5 separate regions of the Homo sapiens genome follow, and regions 2, 3, 4 and 5 are each linked to region 1. The links are contacts of gene promoters, found by promoter capture Hi-C in blood cells and fetal thymus (Javierre and others, 2016). All regions are on one chromosome and are shown on one strand. The core of a region is centred on a gene start or on the middle of the fragment in contact, and the rest is flanking DNA. Distances in the headings are between cores, read along the strand shown. Region 1 holds the start of THEM5 (thioesterase superfamily member 5). Region 2 overlaps CGN (cingulin). Region 3 overlaps TUFT1 (tuftelin 1). Region 4 overlaps TUFT1 (tuftelin 1). Region 5 has its middle 19 kb from the start of CGN.

Evidence for each region. Contacts are between HindIII fragments. The CHiCAGO score rates a contact against its expected background, and 5 or more counts as called.
Region 2: a fragment that was not itself captured here is called in contact with the fragment with the promoter of THEM5 in region 1 in 10 of 17 cell types (M0 macrophages, M2 macrophages, M1 macrophages and 7 more); the score reaches 13.2 in M0 macrophages.
Region 3: a contact is called between a fragment that was not itself captured here and the fragment with the promoter of THEM5 in region 1, in 13 of 17 cell types (M2 macrophages, naive CD8 T cells, activated CD4 T cells and 10 more). The highest score is 14.4, in M2 macrophages.
Region 4: a fragment that was not itself captured here is called in contact with the fragment with the promoter of THEM5 in region 1 in 14 of 17 cell types (M2 macrophages, total CD4 T cells, naive CD8 T cells and 11 more); the score reaches 9.8 in M2 macrophages.
Region 5: a fragment that was not itself captured here is called in contact with the fragment with the promoter of THEM5 in region 1 in 6 of 17 cell types (M2 macrophages, M1 macrophages, M0 macrophages and 3 more); the score reaches 11.7 in M2 macrophages.

What each region holds. Positions count from the first base shown.
Region 1 is chr1:151,852,272-151,855,167 of GRCh38, reverse strand. It overlaps THEM5 (thioesterase superfamily member 5), which reads left to right and starts at 1,456. Exons shown (of 6, transcript NM_182578.4): 1 at 1,456-1,725; 2 at 2,709-2,896. The coding sequence starts at 1,603. The HindIII fragment of the contact is 9,012 bases long and covers 1-2,896 here.
Region 2 is chr1:151,536,002-151,539,070 of GRCh38, reverse strand. CGN (cingulin) reads right to left here. Exons shown (of 21, transcript NM_020770.3): 19 at 2,726-2,834; 20 at 2,178-2,341; 21 at 379-1,866. The coding sequence ends at 1,725. Among named protein-coding and RNA genes, the nearest start is that of TUFT1, 2.8 kb to the left of the region's middle. RefSeq lists an enhancer at 1-17. The HindIII fragment of the contact is 471 bases long and covers 1,390-1,860 here.
Region 3 is chr1:151,580,278-151,583,219 of GRCh38, reverse strand. It overlaps TUFT1 (tuftelin 1), which reads right to left. Exons shown (of 13, transcript NM_020127.3): 12 at 2,178-2,278; 13 at 1-1,576. The coding sequence ends at 1,513. Among named protein-coding and RNA genes, the nearest start is that of SNX27, 30 kb to the left of the region's middle. The HindIII fragment of the contact is 1,354 bases long and covers 939-2,292 here.
Region 4 is chr1:151,562,315-151,565,519 of GRCh38, reverse strand. It overlaps TUFT1 (tuftelin 1), which reads right to left. Exons shown (of 13, transcript NM_020127.3): 3 at 2,834-2,935; 4 at 1,530-1,616; 5 at 906-995. Among named protein-coding and RNA genes, the nearest start is that of MIR554, 18 kb to the right of the region's middle. The HindIII fragment of the contact is 1,878 bases long and covers 953-2,830 here.
Region 5 is chr1:151,491,107-151,494,308 of GRCh38, reverse strand. No RefSeq gene overlaps it. Among named protein-coding and RNA genes, the nearest start is that of CGN, 19 kb to the left of the region's middle. The HindIII fragment of the contact is 6,284 bases long and covers 1-3,202 here.

The sequences.
Region 1 (2,896 bases), core at 207-2,706:
CCACCTTTGCACAGTTCTGATTTTTTTTTTTTTAAGACAAGGTCTCACTCGGCCTCCCAAAATGCTGAGATTACAGCCTTGAGCCACTGCGCGAGGACTGATCTTTAGAACATGCTTTTATTTTAGTCAATTTAAAACTGAGACTTTTAATTGAAAATTGGCAGTTTAAATTCAATAGAAGACACACCACCACCAAATCCCACTGCCTTGCAGATGTTGGCTGAGTGTCCCTTCCCACTCAACAAAGCCTCACTGCCGCGCCCACCTCACTCCCAGCACTGCCTGCTGACATGAGCCACTCCCTGGGCACGGGGTTCCCAAAACATGAGAGTATCCCTGCCAAGCTGTTTCCTCCCAAATTATTTTCTGCCCTCCCTGTCAAGCCCTCCCCCACCTCCAACTCCTATCCCCAGCCAGAGACCAGCAGGTGAAACTCTCCTGTGCTAACCCTTGTCCGGGATATAAGAAGAGGTGTTGGCCGGGTGCGGTGGCTCACGCCTGTAATCCCAGCACTTTGGGAGGTCACCTGAGGTCAGGAGTTCAAGACCAGCCTGGCTAACATGGCAAAACCCCATCTCTACTAAAAAAAATATACAAAATTTAGCTGGGTGTGGTGGTGTGTGTCTGTAATCCCAGCTACTCAGGAGGCTGAGGCAGGAGAATCACTTGAACCCAGGAGGCGGAGGTTGCAGTGAGCCGAGATCACGCCATTGCACACCAGCCTGGGCGACAAGATTGAAACTCCGTCTCACCAAAAAAAAAAAAAAAAAAAAAAAAGAGGTGTCTAAGGCTGTGAGTTGGTTTTCTTTTTTTTTATTTTTTTATTTTTATTTTTTTGAGACGGAGTCTCGCTCAGTCGCCCAGGCTGGAGTGCGGTGGCTAGATCTCAGCTCACTGCAAGCTCCACCTCCCAGGTTCACGCCATTCTCCTGCCTCAGCCCCCTGCGTAGCTGGGACTACCGGCACCCGCCACCACGCCCGGCTAATTTTTTGTATTTTTTTTAGTAGAGACGGGGTTTCACCGTGTTAGCCAGGATGGTCTCGATCTCCTAACCTCGTAATCCGCCGCCTCGGCCTCCCAAAGTGCTGGGATTACAGGCGTGAGCCACCGCACCCGGCCTGTGAGTTGGTTTTCTGAGTCACAAAATCATACCAGAGTTTTCAGAGTCCGGTATACACTGCAGAGCACATACCAAGAACACTCCACCAGCACCCTCCAATCAAGGGACAGGCTTCCCTTATCCTTCTGGAAATATTCTTGGATTCTCCCTCAGAACCCCCAGGCAGCTCTCCAAGGCTCTATATACCCCATACTATTTGTTTATGTACTTGTTTACTCCTTTTGCAACTCAAGCCAGTCCTGCTGCCTTTTCATGCCCAAGCAGCATCTGTCCCTCCCCAAGCACTGGGTGGGGCTCCTAGACCAGCTAAAGGCGCCGAGCATCTGTGGGTGTTGCAGCACACCAGCCCAGCCTCGCCTAGCTCTCTGAAAGAAAGCCTGCAACAGAAGGGAGAGAAGCGGCCCCAAGTGCAGCTGAAAGCACTCCTTGGGAGTCAGCCAAGACCCTCCATCCAAGCAGGGCTGGATCCTTGCACTTGGCCATGATAAGGAGATGCTTCCAGGTGGCAGCAAGACTTGGCCACCACAGAGGCCTTCTTGAGGCCCCCCGTATCCTGCCCAGACTCAACCCTGCCTCAGCATTTGGATCCTCCACAGACTCCATGGTGAGTTCCCAGCTCAGCCAGATGGGCAGTGTTTTCCCAGGAGCCTAGGGCTTAAGGAGCACCCCAAATCTCCTCTTCCCAGCCCATGGCCAGGGCAGGTGGGCAGTGTTCGGAGGAGCTATTTGATTTGGCAAAGAGAAAGTGCTCTGGGATACCAAGTTGCCCCCATTCAAAACTAAAACTACCAGGAGACCTGCATCTGGCTCTGTGTCTTGTGTGGCCACCAACAAATGACTTTCCTCCTGTGGGACTCAGACTACTGCAGCAAAGCTGGGGTATCCCCAGACAGAGGACCCCATCTGTGGCATTGGCAAGCAGCTCACATGCTGTCTACAGTTGTGACTGGTGTATGAGCAGGTGACGCTACAGAGGACTTCCTTACGTCACACAGATGGGCACATAGTCTGTGCCCCAGCCATGGCACCACACCTCTGTGGGGGCCCAAATGTGTTTCAAAGGAGCCACCCTGCCCAGGCAGGCCCACAGCAGTGGGCAGAGCTGGAGTAGCCCCTGAGGTGGGGGTTGCTAGAATGGTCCTCAACAACTGTGACCCTGCCCTGCAGAGGAGACAGCATCTAGTGCGACCACCAGCTCTCACAGTCACATGCTTGGCAACCTTGGCCGTATTCCCTCAGTTTCCCCATCTGTACAGTGAGGCTAATATGAGCAGTTGTCAACTTTAAAGAACTGCTCACATGTTTTAAGCAGAACAAGGGTAAGGCACCACATCGAGCAGCATGCCCATCATCTCTGGCCCCACTCCCTGCCCGCCCTTCCCTTGCTCTTTAGCATCCTTATGCCCCGTCACCCATAGGGGTCCGCAGCCCCCCTGCAAGGAATATGGGCCCTTTCCCTTGGATCGATACTCTGGCAGAAGGGATTGAGAAGCCCCAGCACCCAGGAACAGCTGTTTAGAGGTCCCGAGCCCAGGCAGCAGCCCCCCTCCAGGATGCTGTCTAGTCATTCTGATTTTTCCTGCCCAGTTCTCAAGATTCTTGCCAGAGAAGACAGACTTGAAGGATTATGCTCTTCCCAATGCCAGCTGGTGTTCGGACATGCTGAGCCTGTACCAAGAATTTCTGGAGAAGACTAAGTCTAGCGGCTGGATCAAGCTGCCCTCCTTCAAGTCCAACAGAGACCACATCCGGGGACTCAAGCTCCCATCTGGACT
Region 2 (3,069 bases), core at 376-2,875, 320 kb after region 1:
GCCTGTAATCCCAGCTACTCAGGAGGCTGAGGCAGGAGAATCGCTTGAACCCGGGAGGCAGAGGTTGCAGTGAGCTGAGATCATGCCATTACACTCCAGCCTGGGTGACAGAGTGAGACTCCGTCTCAAAAAAAAAAAAAAAAAAAAGGCATTTACTGTCCTTGTTCTTCCCAGAAGGTTGTTCAGGAGAGAAGAGAATGGGGCTGCTATAAACATCTCCAGGTTTCGTAGGTCCCATCTGCTCTGTTCTAAAGGGCCTCTGAAAAGTCAGGTGAAGAAAACTCCAGCTTCGGCTCCTAAGCTGTACAGTTAATATGACTTCATAAAATCTGGACCTCCAAATATGCCAAGAAAAAGAATGAGAAGACAAACCAAGGATTTCAATATAAATGTGTAATTTTAATATTTAATTTAAAATAAAACCAAGGCTGGATTGGATTGGGAAAGAACGTTTGATTTGCAGAAGAATATAGGAATTTTTTTAATCACGACATTACAAGTCATTTGTGAAAACAGCCTTCCTCCTGCCACCGGCTCCCTATACAACCTGCTTAGGAAATATGGAGGTGAATCATCCCCCTTACCTCTTCCCTACCAGGGCTTGGTTCTCCCCAAAATCCAAAGGAGAAATAAATGTCTTCCGTTGCCTCTTCCCATTTTTACAGTCAGCTTCTAACCCCTTGCAAAGCCCTGAATCAGAGCCAAGCACCTCAGAAAATGAGGGTCCCTTGGTTCTCTTATTGAAGTTGGGCACATGTGGTCAGAGAAGCCCCAAGGAAGGCCACAGGGACTGACACCTTTACTTTTGGAATTTGTGCAGCCAGTTGTCAGGGCTCCCAGGTGCAACCACCTTATAACCATATCCACAGTCACAGAGGAGGGAGAGGAGGAAGGATGAAAACCCTGAGCAGGACCAGACCCCCGCCACTTTATCATGACCCTACCAAAGTCCCTCTCCCAGGGGTCATTGGCAGAGAAACCCCAACAGCTCTCTCAATCAATCACTGGGGCAGCAGGGAAGGCTGAGGGCCCTGGCTGGGGAAAAGCTGGTCTTTGGAGAGGTATGAATGTGCAGATATAAAAAGCAAGAAGAGCATCCTTATCTCCTTGCCTTGGCTAAGGCACTGACAGGAAAAATGCAAGGTAGGAATGGCAAAGAGGGGAAAGGAAGAAGACAAAAATATAGGAACTGGAGGGGTATGGGGACTACCACATGGGCCCCATACTTGTGCAAAGAAATGGGTAGAGCCATGCCTGCATGTCTGTTACCCATAACATTCCCCTCACCCTGCTCCAGAGTGGAAGGAAAATGAGTTGCAGGAATCCAGGGAGCACAATAACATAGGGTATTTCCCTGAGCCTTAGGGTTAAGGGCTAAAGAATAAAGCTTTATACACATGGCAATTTCTATCCCTTCCTATCCTTCTCAGTCCCCATCAGCCTAATGCTGACCATCCTTCCACTATAAGAGAGATGAGGGAGGTGTCGGCACTTGAGGAAAAGGCTCAGTTGGCTTGAAATGTCCACTCCTACAGTGGAAAGTCCATCTATCAGCTTATTGCTGATGATTTTTTTTTTTTATCACCATCACTCTGACCCCTCCCTGTCTTAGGTCTGAATAATTGGGTCACCCATAGGAATGCAGAACCCAGGGTGGGCAGAGCAGAGCAGCACTTGCTGGGATAGGCCTCGAGCCTGGTTTCTGAGTCCTTGAGGACCACGAGCTAACAGGAGCTGGTCTGTAGGTTGCTCTCCGTAAGCAGTGATGCAATGGACGAGGGATCGTAGACACTGTCGAATTCCTCATCTGAGCTCAGCCCTTCGTTTTTGAGAGCTGACTCAGCAGCTGAGCGGGAAGCTTTGCGCCTGACTCAGAGAGAAGAATAATGGTTGGGGAGGGGAAAATAGAAATATTAAGACAGCCACCCTTTTTGTACAAAGGAAACCCCAATTCTTCTAAGGCCTAAAGTTTATTCACAAAATCCCCAACTAATCAGATTTGGGGAGGTACAGGATGGTGGCTGAGATACTAATAAATAAATATACTGGCTTCCAACCAGAAACAAGTGACTACACAGTACCATGTTAGAGATTCTCCTCCTTATCCAGCACAGGAGAGACCATTCCCTCCCTGCTCTAGTGTCCCTATGGAGCAAGGGCAAAAGGGTAGCCCATACCAGGAGTCCTTCTCCAGAGACTTGATCCGGGCCTGGAGCTGTTCATTGACCTCATGCTGCTCCTCCACCTCACGCTGGGCCTTCTTCCTCAGGCCGTCCAGTCGCTCAATTTCCTCTTCTGCTTCATCCACCTGACGCTTCAAAGCCTTCACCCTCAGGCTTAGCTGGGCAGGATACCAAGTCCACACATCTGAATAGCATCTACTACCATGGCCTGGGACCCTCCCCCATAACAATCTTGACAAGGTATAATTGCCGCTGGAAAAATGTGGCCTTGGGCAAGTTCCTTAACCTCACATGGTTGTCTTAGGGATTAAATGTATTAACACATGTGTAATACTTACAGAACCTAGCACATCATAAGCACTCAATATATACGCTTACCATGACTTCTCTAGTCTAGTCTTTTCAATCTAATCTCTGTCCTTATACAAGGAAAGTCTAAGTTTGGAGGACCTATAGGAGATAAGGGCCTCCCTTGGCTTTCAGGAAAACATATAATATATACCTGCCCCAGGTTGCTTGGCTCCAGGGTGCCATGTCCTCACCTGGTCTTTCTGGTCATTGACATGCTGCCGCTCGTCTTCAATCTGGATGGATAGTTCTTTAACTTTCCGCTCCAGTTTTCGATTGGTAGACTGCAGAACTGTCTTCTCCCTAAGGTGAGGTAGAAGAATGTCTATGAGTGTCCCCATTTCTAAGGGAATCCTAACTTGGCCCCCTACTGTCCCCAAGGACTCCTCTCAGCCATGAGCTCCACCATTAGACTGGGCAGGATCCAGGGCAGATTCAAAGAATGAGGGAGAGTGACGTCATTCACATTTCAGAATTTCTGCAACACTCTTTGCTCTCTATCAGGAGAAAGTGTTCCCTAAAGATCAGGCCAGGCTGG
Region 3 (2,942 bases), core at 366-2,865, 270 kb after region 1:
GCTCAAGCCTATAATCCTAGCACTTTGGGAAGCCGAGGTGGGTGGATCACCTGAGGTCAGGAATTCGAGACCAGCCTAGCCAGTATGGTGAAACCCCATCTCTACTAAAAATACAAAAATCAGCCAGGCGTGGTGGCACACCTGTAGTCCCAGCTACTCGGGAGGCTGAGGCAGAAGAATCGCTTAAATCCGGGAGGCAGAGGTTGCAGTGAGCTGAGATCGCGCCACTGCACTCCAGCCTGGGTGACAGAGTGAGACTCTGTCTCAGAAAAAAAAAAAAACAATAAAAAAAGAAAACCATGATGACCTGCAGGGTCATTCAGAGCCAGGATAAAAGACCAATTATGGAGCAAGGGGTTCAGAAGGGCTAGTGAAGAACTCATCTGGGTCCCAGAAGAGTCCTGATTGCCCTCTTTCTCCAAACAACATATACTCTGACCCCAAAGCCTCAGGGAAAGTAGACTCACCTTCCTTAGCTGCAGAGCAAGTTTGAAGGAGAAAGAGAGAAGAAACAGGCAGAGGAAAGGGAGAGAAAGATTCATAATAGTGTCACTCTGACATTAACAAGCCTAATGGGAACAGTTTTCCCGGTTTCAAGCAAATCCAAATACTGCAAGAGAAGGCTATAGAACTTTGGTATTATATCAATCATGAGATGTAAGCAAAACCACCAATAACTTAGCAAAATAAATACAAAGAGGATTTTGCTGGGACTGGTGGAACCCAGTGAAAACAGTTTTCAGGCTCTGGGTCAAGAAGACTGAGGTGTGCCTGGTGGTACACCTTAGGGAAAATCCCTAAAGAGACTCTGGGAGTTTTCACAGCAGAGAGAAGTCACACATGACTGTCTGTAGCCCTAGAGAATTTTTCCGCAAAAGGCTACTCCCTGAATGTACATTCCCTCCTCCCCAGAAAGACAAGGCCACCCAGTCAAAGCTTAGGTTCACTGGCTCTCACCAGGCCTTGCCAGGTAACCCCACTATCTGTCTGCAGGAGGCCAGGGCAGCGTAGGCTGCAGATGGAGCAAGTAGAAAAACAAACAGTTTGTTGCTAAGAACTGAGCTGTGTTTGTGGAAGGAACTTCATTCCCCCAGGACATTCTCCAATCACTCTGGACATCTGTGTCTCCAGCTTTTAGGGCTGAGGCAAATCTTGTCACCTCTCCCAATCTGATGAAGGCCTGGCTTATGGCACAGCCAGAGTCCAGTCTACAACAGAAGGGAGGCTCTCTACAGAGAAAAATAGTCACTGTAGGAATATAGATATTGCCCTGGCTCCTGCTTGCAGGACAATGTCTTCCAAAGGGCTGCAGTGCCTTGAATAGGTGCTCGTGCTCCGTCTGCCCAGCTTAGAGTGGCCAGGGGCTTGGGAATGGTGAGACACAGGAGCCCGAAGTCCTGGGTGCAGCCAGGGGACAGTCAGGAAGTCAAAGGCAGTGTTAACAGCCAACAGGGGCAGTGGGCTTCTCCGAGGCAGAGGCAGCAGCAATGGCAGCAACCATCTCCAGGCAGCTCAGGTTTCCACCACTCGGATGACAGGCATGGGCTTCGGGCTAGGCGGCTTGGATATCCTAATACTGAAAAGAAGGTTGGAAACACTGAGTTGTGCTGGGAACAGCTGTGTTGTGGCCCACCCTTCACAGAGCCCCTGGAATCTTCACATTGGCCTCTGGAATCTTACACTGCAGTGCTGGCTGATCACTTGGGTTCCAAGTGCTTTAAAACAGTAATTATCAGTGACAACTAGGGGAAGATTTGGGGCATGATACATGTGTCTTGTAGCAAGGGTGAAGAAAAGAGAGGGGCAGTTAAACAACTGAGAAGTGGATATAGCTGTGATTCTCGATTTTGTCAAGATCATGGGTCCTTTTCTGAATCTCTTAGAGGCAAAATACCCTCTCCCTAGAAATATGCAAACATTATAACTAAATTTTTCCTACCATTTCAGGTGGTTCATACATCTCTAGAAGCCATTCATGGACCTCCCTGGGCTTGTGTTAACAGGTTCTACTCTAATTGGGCTAGAAAATGGTTCCGGCAAACAGTGGGTCAGACTGAGGGAGGAAAGTTGGATTTAAAGGAGCCTTGTTCTTGCCTTAGCACTAAAGGTTCTACAGAGCTCTGTCCCTCCTTCTCCCCTCCTCCCTGGCCCCATTCTATCTACACACGCTCACTCACCTGCCCGGGTTCTCTGTCTTGGCCCGGGCCTGGGTGCTGAAGTTGCCATGACTGATTTGTTTTTCTATCAGGTGTTCCATCCGGTCATGCATCTCTAAATTCTGTAACACAAGCTTAGGGGTTAGAGTTGGCCTTTTTCTGGCTTCCCGGGTGCCACGTTCAGCTAGTGCATTCTGGTCTCTCTGCCTGTGTTTATGCTGCTGTTGCCTCTACCCCCACCATGCGTGCCACCACCTGGATACCCACTTGCCTCATCTTCATTACCATAGATTGCGCTTATCCTCCAATACCTGCTCCTCCATAACTCTGTACAACACTGACAGACTGATGGTTTCCTATATGTCCTCTACATACAGTTCTTTTTTTTTTTTTTTTTTTTTTGAGATAGGGTCTCACTCTGTTGCCCAGGCTGGAGTGCAGTGGCGTGATTATAGCTCACTGCAGCCTCGACCTCCTGGGTTCAAGTGATCCTCTCCTTTAAGTCTCCCAAGTAACTGGACTACAGATGCATGCCACCACATCTGGTTAATTAAAAAAATTTTTTCTTTTTCAGAGACAAAGTCTCACTATGTTGCCTAGGTCTTGAACTCCTGGCCTCGAGCAATCCTACCGCCTCAACCTCCCTAAGTGCTGGGATTACAGGCATGAGCCACTGCACCTGGCCCCTATATATAATTTTTTGTCCTCAGTTGAGATACTCACTTGCCTTTGTTGATACGCTATTCTATAAAGCATTCTTTGGTCTTTTTAAAAATACACATTTTA
Region 4 (3,205 bases), core at 642-3,141, 290 kb after region 1:
CTTCAGCCAAAGCAAAAATTAGGTAATTTCCACCACACAAGTGCATGCCCAAGACAAAGAACTTTCCTTGCACCAGCTGCTGGGCCACTGTTCCCCTCAAGGGAATGAAGGCAGGGGCTGCTGCTGGAGCAAGACTCTGCCTGAACCAAAATGCAAATCAAGGATACAACTCAGAATCTAAAGGATGAGGGCGAAGTCACAAAGAGACAGCTCTGCTCTCCTGAGGACATTTCTGTCCTCGAGTTTTGGAAAAACTGAAAAGCAGGATCCCAGGATTATCCCTCCCAGGAAAGACTTACCCAATCTGTTCAGTCTAACAAACATTTACTGATGCCTTCTACATCCCAGACCTGGGGGGAATGGGAGGGTGAGGATACAGACACGAGGTGGGGTGGGGTGGGGTGAACTCCTAACCTTGAGGAACTTCCCATCCCAGGTTAGACATAACTATATACAAGATTAATAACAGGCTAGGGCACGGACTTCAATTTACGCTACAGGTATCACCCAAACTAAGCAAGATCAGCTTATGAGAAGTGTGGATTTACAGGTGATTGTCTGCTTTACAAAATTCTATTATTATAAGAAGCTTGATCACAGAATCCTTATAGATAAGAGGTTTGCTAACAACTGATGATATTTAATTTATATAAGTTCAATTTCTGTACAGTGTTTCAGGAGCAGGTGTACTTATGTTTAAGCTGACATGTGTAAATGTAAGTGCTCATCGGCTGGAGAGTCCTAACCAGATTGTGAGTGCTCCAGAGAAGCCAGCATCACCTCTATTTTCTCCATTCCTGGCAGGGATGCTAGATTTAGCACACACTGGGTAATTGGTAAATGAGACTGCCTGGCACAACCCCACCTCCTCGGTGGGGACCCAACCATGGACCATTTCCTATTACCTGTATCTCCTGTCGATGGAGAGAATCTCCTAGGTTCCTGTCAAGCTTGCTACTTATATCCTCCCGGAGCTTCTGTAGGCAGTTCCTGGCCTGGGAGGGGAGGGGAAGAAACTTGAGCTTTAGGGTAGAGAAAGAGAGCATGCCAACTCACCCAACTCTGTGCCCCATCCCTGGCCTGTACTGCGAGTCAGGCACTGTCCTAACGACTGGCTGCAGGATGGAGGGAGGGACCTTGGTCAAGTGGAGCTACAGCTGACATTCTTGTTGGGGAGACACAAGACACAAAAGACAAATAAGTAAAATGTGTAATATGTTATATGGGCATAAGTGCCAACGAGAAACACGAGCCAGGAAGGGAGTTAAGAAATGCTGTGAAAAGTGGCTGGTAATTTTCGATAGGTGGCTGGGACAGTGCTGGGCCCATAGTACTTAAGTATTTGTGGATTAATGGATCAGGTATGGTCAAAAGTTATATATTTGACACACGGGAGGGCATGGTGGCATTTCAGAGACATAAAGGAAAAAGAAGGGGAAAAACCAGAATCCACAAAAGAAGACAGTCACAAAAAATGTGAGATTTAGAGAAATGACCTAGGCACTGCGTGAGAGGTAAGGGGTGCCCACCTCCTGGATGTACTGGACCTCACTCTTCAGCTGGTTAATATTCTTCTCGTGAATCATCTTGTCTCCAGACCTCCCCTTCAAGTACACCTGAAATAAGAACACCATTTAGTTAAGAAACCTCAAATTAAATTAACTATACAAAAATAGGCAGCTTCATATAGTGCTGGTGGGAGGGTAAATTGTTACCACCAATTTACTGGGTGGAATTTGGTGATTCGGATCAGAAGACCTAAAAATATATTTACTTTTTGGTCTATCAGTTCTACTTCTGGAAATTTACCCTAATGCAATAAATTTAGCTCAATGCTATATAGCTGTATTGGCATAAACACTCACATATATACAGTCATGCATCACTTAATCATAGGAATACATTCTGAGGGATGCATCATTAGGCAATTTCATCCTTGTACAAACATCACAGAGTGTACACACACAAACCTAGATGGCATGGCCTCCTACACCCCTAGGCTGTATGGTGTACCCTATTGCTCCTAGGCTACAAACAAACCTGCACAGCATGTTACTGTACTGAATACTGTAGGTGATCGTCACACAATGGTAATGTATCTAAACCCAGAAAAAATACAGTAAAAATGGAGTATAATAATCTTATGGGACCACTGTTGTCTACGCAGTCCATCACTGACCAAAACGTTGTTATGCAGTTTTGTTATGCACTGACCAAAACTGTAACTGAGTCAATCATGTGGTATGGGATTTATATCTAAAAAAGCTGTTTTATAAAAAAAAAGAGAGAGAGAAATAACAAAAATCATTTTATTTTTTAAAAAATAAGTTCCATCAGCCAGGTGGGCTGGTGCACGCCTATAATACCAGCATTTTGGGAGGCTGAGACAGGACGATTGCTCGAGCCCAGGATTTGGAGACCAGCCCAGGGAACAAGGCGAGACTGTCTCTACAAAACTAAAAATATATAAATAAATAAATAAGTTCCATCAGGATGAACCCATTATAGGAAAACATAAGTTCCATAAACACACCTCCTACCTGTCTCCACAACCTCTAGCAGCAAAACATGGTCAGTGGATAGGCCCCTAGTAAGGTCATCCAGTCCATCCCCTTGCCTGGGGCCAGGCTGCACCAAAGTTGCTAACAGGCAGACTGTAGTCTCCTGGTATTAATTAAGATATTTCTAGGAGATTGCCAGGAACTAGCAGCTCAGGTCTGGTTCCTTCCATCAAACCACAAGCTCCCTTTGGCAACAACATCAACTGCTCCTTCTCATATACGTGCAGGGAGGAAGAGGACAGGGAGAAAAGTTGGAGGTGAACTAAGCTTACCTTAATGATCTCCTCATGTCCATCATGGGACTCCACCAGTTCTGAAGCCAGAGAATGACCAGCTGAGTGGCTGGACACCATGGCATAGGTCTTCCTGCCCGCCTGGCCAAAGAGAGATGAGAGAGAGAGAGAGAGAGAGAGATGGCTCAGACACCACATGGCAAGCCCAGAACTCCTGCCCCTCAGCTAATGCAGAAGACCTGTTTCTCAAAAGACTTGAAGGATTAGTCTGACTTTCCTCTCCAAAAATTCGTTTCCGAACTTCTAACAGAAGCCACACAGCAGCAAGAACACCGGCCAGGGAGAATGGACAGAAGTAGCAGTTTAGTTTTAATTTTAGTGGGGGACTCCTCCTGCCCCAAAGCAGTGCAG
Region 5 (3,202 bases), core at 636-3,135, 360 kb after region 1:
TTTTTTGGTACAGATGGGGGCTCATTATGTTGCTCAGGCTGATCCCGAACTCCTGGCCTTAAGTGATCTTCCCACCTCGGCCTCCCAAAGTGCTAGGATTACAGGTATGAGCCACCACACCCAGTGTATCCTTATTCTACAGCCAGCCTCTCTTCCTAGTGTCTAGACTTAATTCCTGAGCTCTATTATTCAGCAATATTTATCGAACACCTACCAGGTACCAGGCACTGTTCTAGGCTCTTGGAATATAGCAGAAGTCAACAATAGGCAGCAATCCCTGCCTTCATGAGCTTACTTCCTACTGAGTGAGGAAACTAAAGGCCAACATCTTAATTCCACCTTCTGGAAGTAACATCTGAGTTACCTTCTGCCCTCAAAAAGGTGTAGAGAAGAATCTTATCCTTATCCTAACCCTTTTGCAACTTGTAACTTGTAGCTGCTCTGCTTTTTTTTTTTTTTTTTTTTTTTTTTTTTGAGACAGAGTCTTGCTCCGTCGCCCAGGCTGGAGTGCAGTGGCGCAATCTTGGCCCACCTCCTGGGTTCAAGAGATTCTCCTACCTCAGCCTCCCAAGTAGCTGGGACTACAGGTGTGTGCCATCACACCCGGCTAACTTTTGTATTTTTGGTAGAGATGATGTTTCATCATGTTGTCCAGGCTGGTCTTGAACTCCTGACCTCAGGAGATCTGCCCGCCTCAGCCTCCCAAAGTGCCGGAATTACAGGTGTGAGTCACCGCACCTGGCCATATTTCTTTCCTTTCTATTCACCATCTTCAAGCAGTTTATATGCAGTAATTCCAAGTTCCCTTGTCCCTCACCTGCAGTTGAGCTTGGAAACTGAAGGCTTTTCTGAGTCCTCCTTCTACCGGATGTCTCTTGTGCTTCTGCTCCCTATTTTTTCACACTCTTTTCTCCTTGGATTTCTATACCACTGCTCTATTATTTTCTACAGCTCTAGCCCTCCCCTGTCCCTGTGGGTACTTTTTTCCTTTCTCAGCTATTCCCCATAGCTGTGAAAAAGCTCTTTCCTTTCCTCTGCCCTCCACTCTTCCCCTTCAGTGGCTCATTCACTCTCATGCTTTCTCCTGCCACCTCCAAAAGCAGACAACTTTCAAATCTCCATTTTAAACACCGACCTCTCATCCATGTACTGAATCAGTATTTAACTTTCTCCAGAACTTTTGCACTTGTACGTCTCATCTCTACTTAGGACACAGACAAACCAAGCAAAGTAACTTCCCCCGTATACCAGCACTCCTTCTCAAATTCCCTGTCTTTACTTTTTGCAGCCCCCAATATATATATATATTTTTGAGACGCAGTCTCACTCTGTTGCCCAGGCTGGAGTGCAGTGGCGTGATCTCGGCTCACTGCAAGCTCCACCTCCCGGGTTCACACCATCCTCCTGCCTCAGCCTCCTGAGTAGCTGGGACTACAGGCACCCACCACCACGCCTGGCTAATTTTTTGTATTTTTAGTAGAGACGGGGTTTCACCGTGTTAGCAGGATGGTCTCATTCTCCTGACCTTGTGATCTGCCCGCCTTGGCCTCCCAAAGTGTTGGGATTACAGGCGTGAGCCACCGCGCCCGGCCTGCAGTCCCCAGTATTAGAAGGAGCAACTTCTTGCTTAGAGTTGCACTGGAGACTCGGTACTAATAATACCTGCCAGCTACCCTAAATAGGAAAGAAATTTAAATAAATTAATAGATACAAAACAAGTTTATGGCCATAGGTGGGGGTAATCTCAACCTTTGGCAAGCAAGGCTAGAAAGTAGCATCAGACTTCAAAGAAAACTTACCATTGTTAGGTTCAAGTCAGAGGGCAAAGAAGGAAAGTGCAGGACACTGGAGGGGATATAGGAGGTGGGAGGGCATCTGAGAACCTCAGAGAAGGAAGACTGAAGCAGGAGGGAGAATGGAGATAGGGATCTTGTGTGTGGGAAAACACACAAACTCAGAGTGTTTGTTCCTGTTATCTCACTCAACAGTAACAATCAACACAGACAGAAGACTCCTGTGACCAAATATGGAGGATTTCTCCCCACCAGCAAACAAGCAATCAGTTCTGCAGCAGACACCAGCTGGGTGTCCTCTAATTCGATTCTGACACCATCTACCAAGAGGCCACAGGTTGAGGGCTCAAACCCCAAAACTGCCCCCACCCACCCCATTCAGACACCAGTCAAAACCCAAGACTCCAGAATTTCTGACCCAGCAGATTCAAGTTGGGGCTCCTACAGCCCCCTCTTTGGACTCAATTCATTTGCTAGAGCAGCTCACAGAACTAAGGGAGACACTTCGTTTACCAGCTTATTAGAAAGGATATGACAGAGGATGTGAATGGAGAGATGCATGTCTGTTAGATTCTTCTTGGTCTCTCTATGCAGCCTTCCTTCCTCCAGGCTACGGGGTAGGACCCTCTCTGCAATCAGGGTCTTATGACTCACAATCAGATTAGAGTCCTGCATCTGGCAGGTGCAATGAGAACAGGAAGGCCCGGTGTGGTGGCTCATGCCTGTAATTCCCACACTTTGGAAGGCCGAAGCAGGTGGATTGCTTGAGCTCATGAGTTTAAGACCAGCCTGGGCAACATAGGGAGAGTGTCTCTACAAAAAATAAAAAATTAGCCGGACATGGTGGTGCACACTTGTAGTCCCAGCTACTCAGGAGCCTGAGGTGGGAGGATTGATTGAGTACAGGAGATCAAAGCTGCAGTGAGCAGTGATTACACCAATGCACTTCAACCTGGGCAACAGAGTGAGACATTATCTCAAAACATAAATAAATGAATAAATAAATAAGAGCGGGAGAAAGTCAGATAGCAAGAAAGTCTGCTTTCTGAGGCCGGCCTCTGAATCCTAAAGTGTCCTAACATTATAACAAAAGACTGTAGGCCGGGCACGGTGGCTCACGCCTGTAATCCCAGCACTTTGGGAGGCCAAGGCAGGTGGATCACCTGAGGTCGGGAGTTCAAGACCAGCCTGACCAACATGGAGAAACCCCGTCTCTACTAAAAATACAAAATTAGCCGGGCGTGGTGACGTATGTCTGTAATCCCAGCTACTTGGGAGGCTGAGGCAGGAGAATCACTTGAACCCAGGAGGCGGAGGTTGCAGTGAGCCAAGATTGCGTCATTGCACTCCAGCCTGGGCAACAAAAGTGAAACTCCATCTCAAAAAAAAAAAAAAAAAGAAAAAGAAAA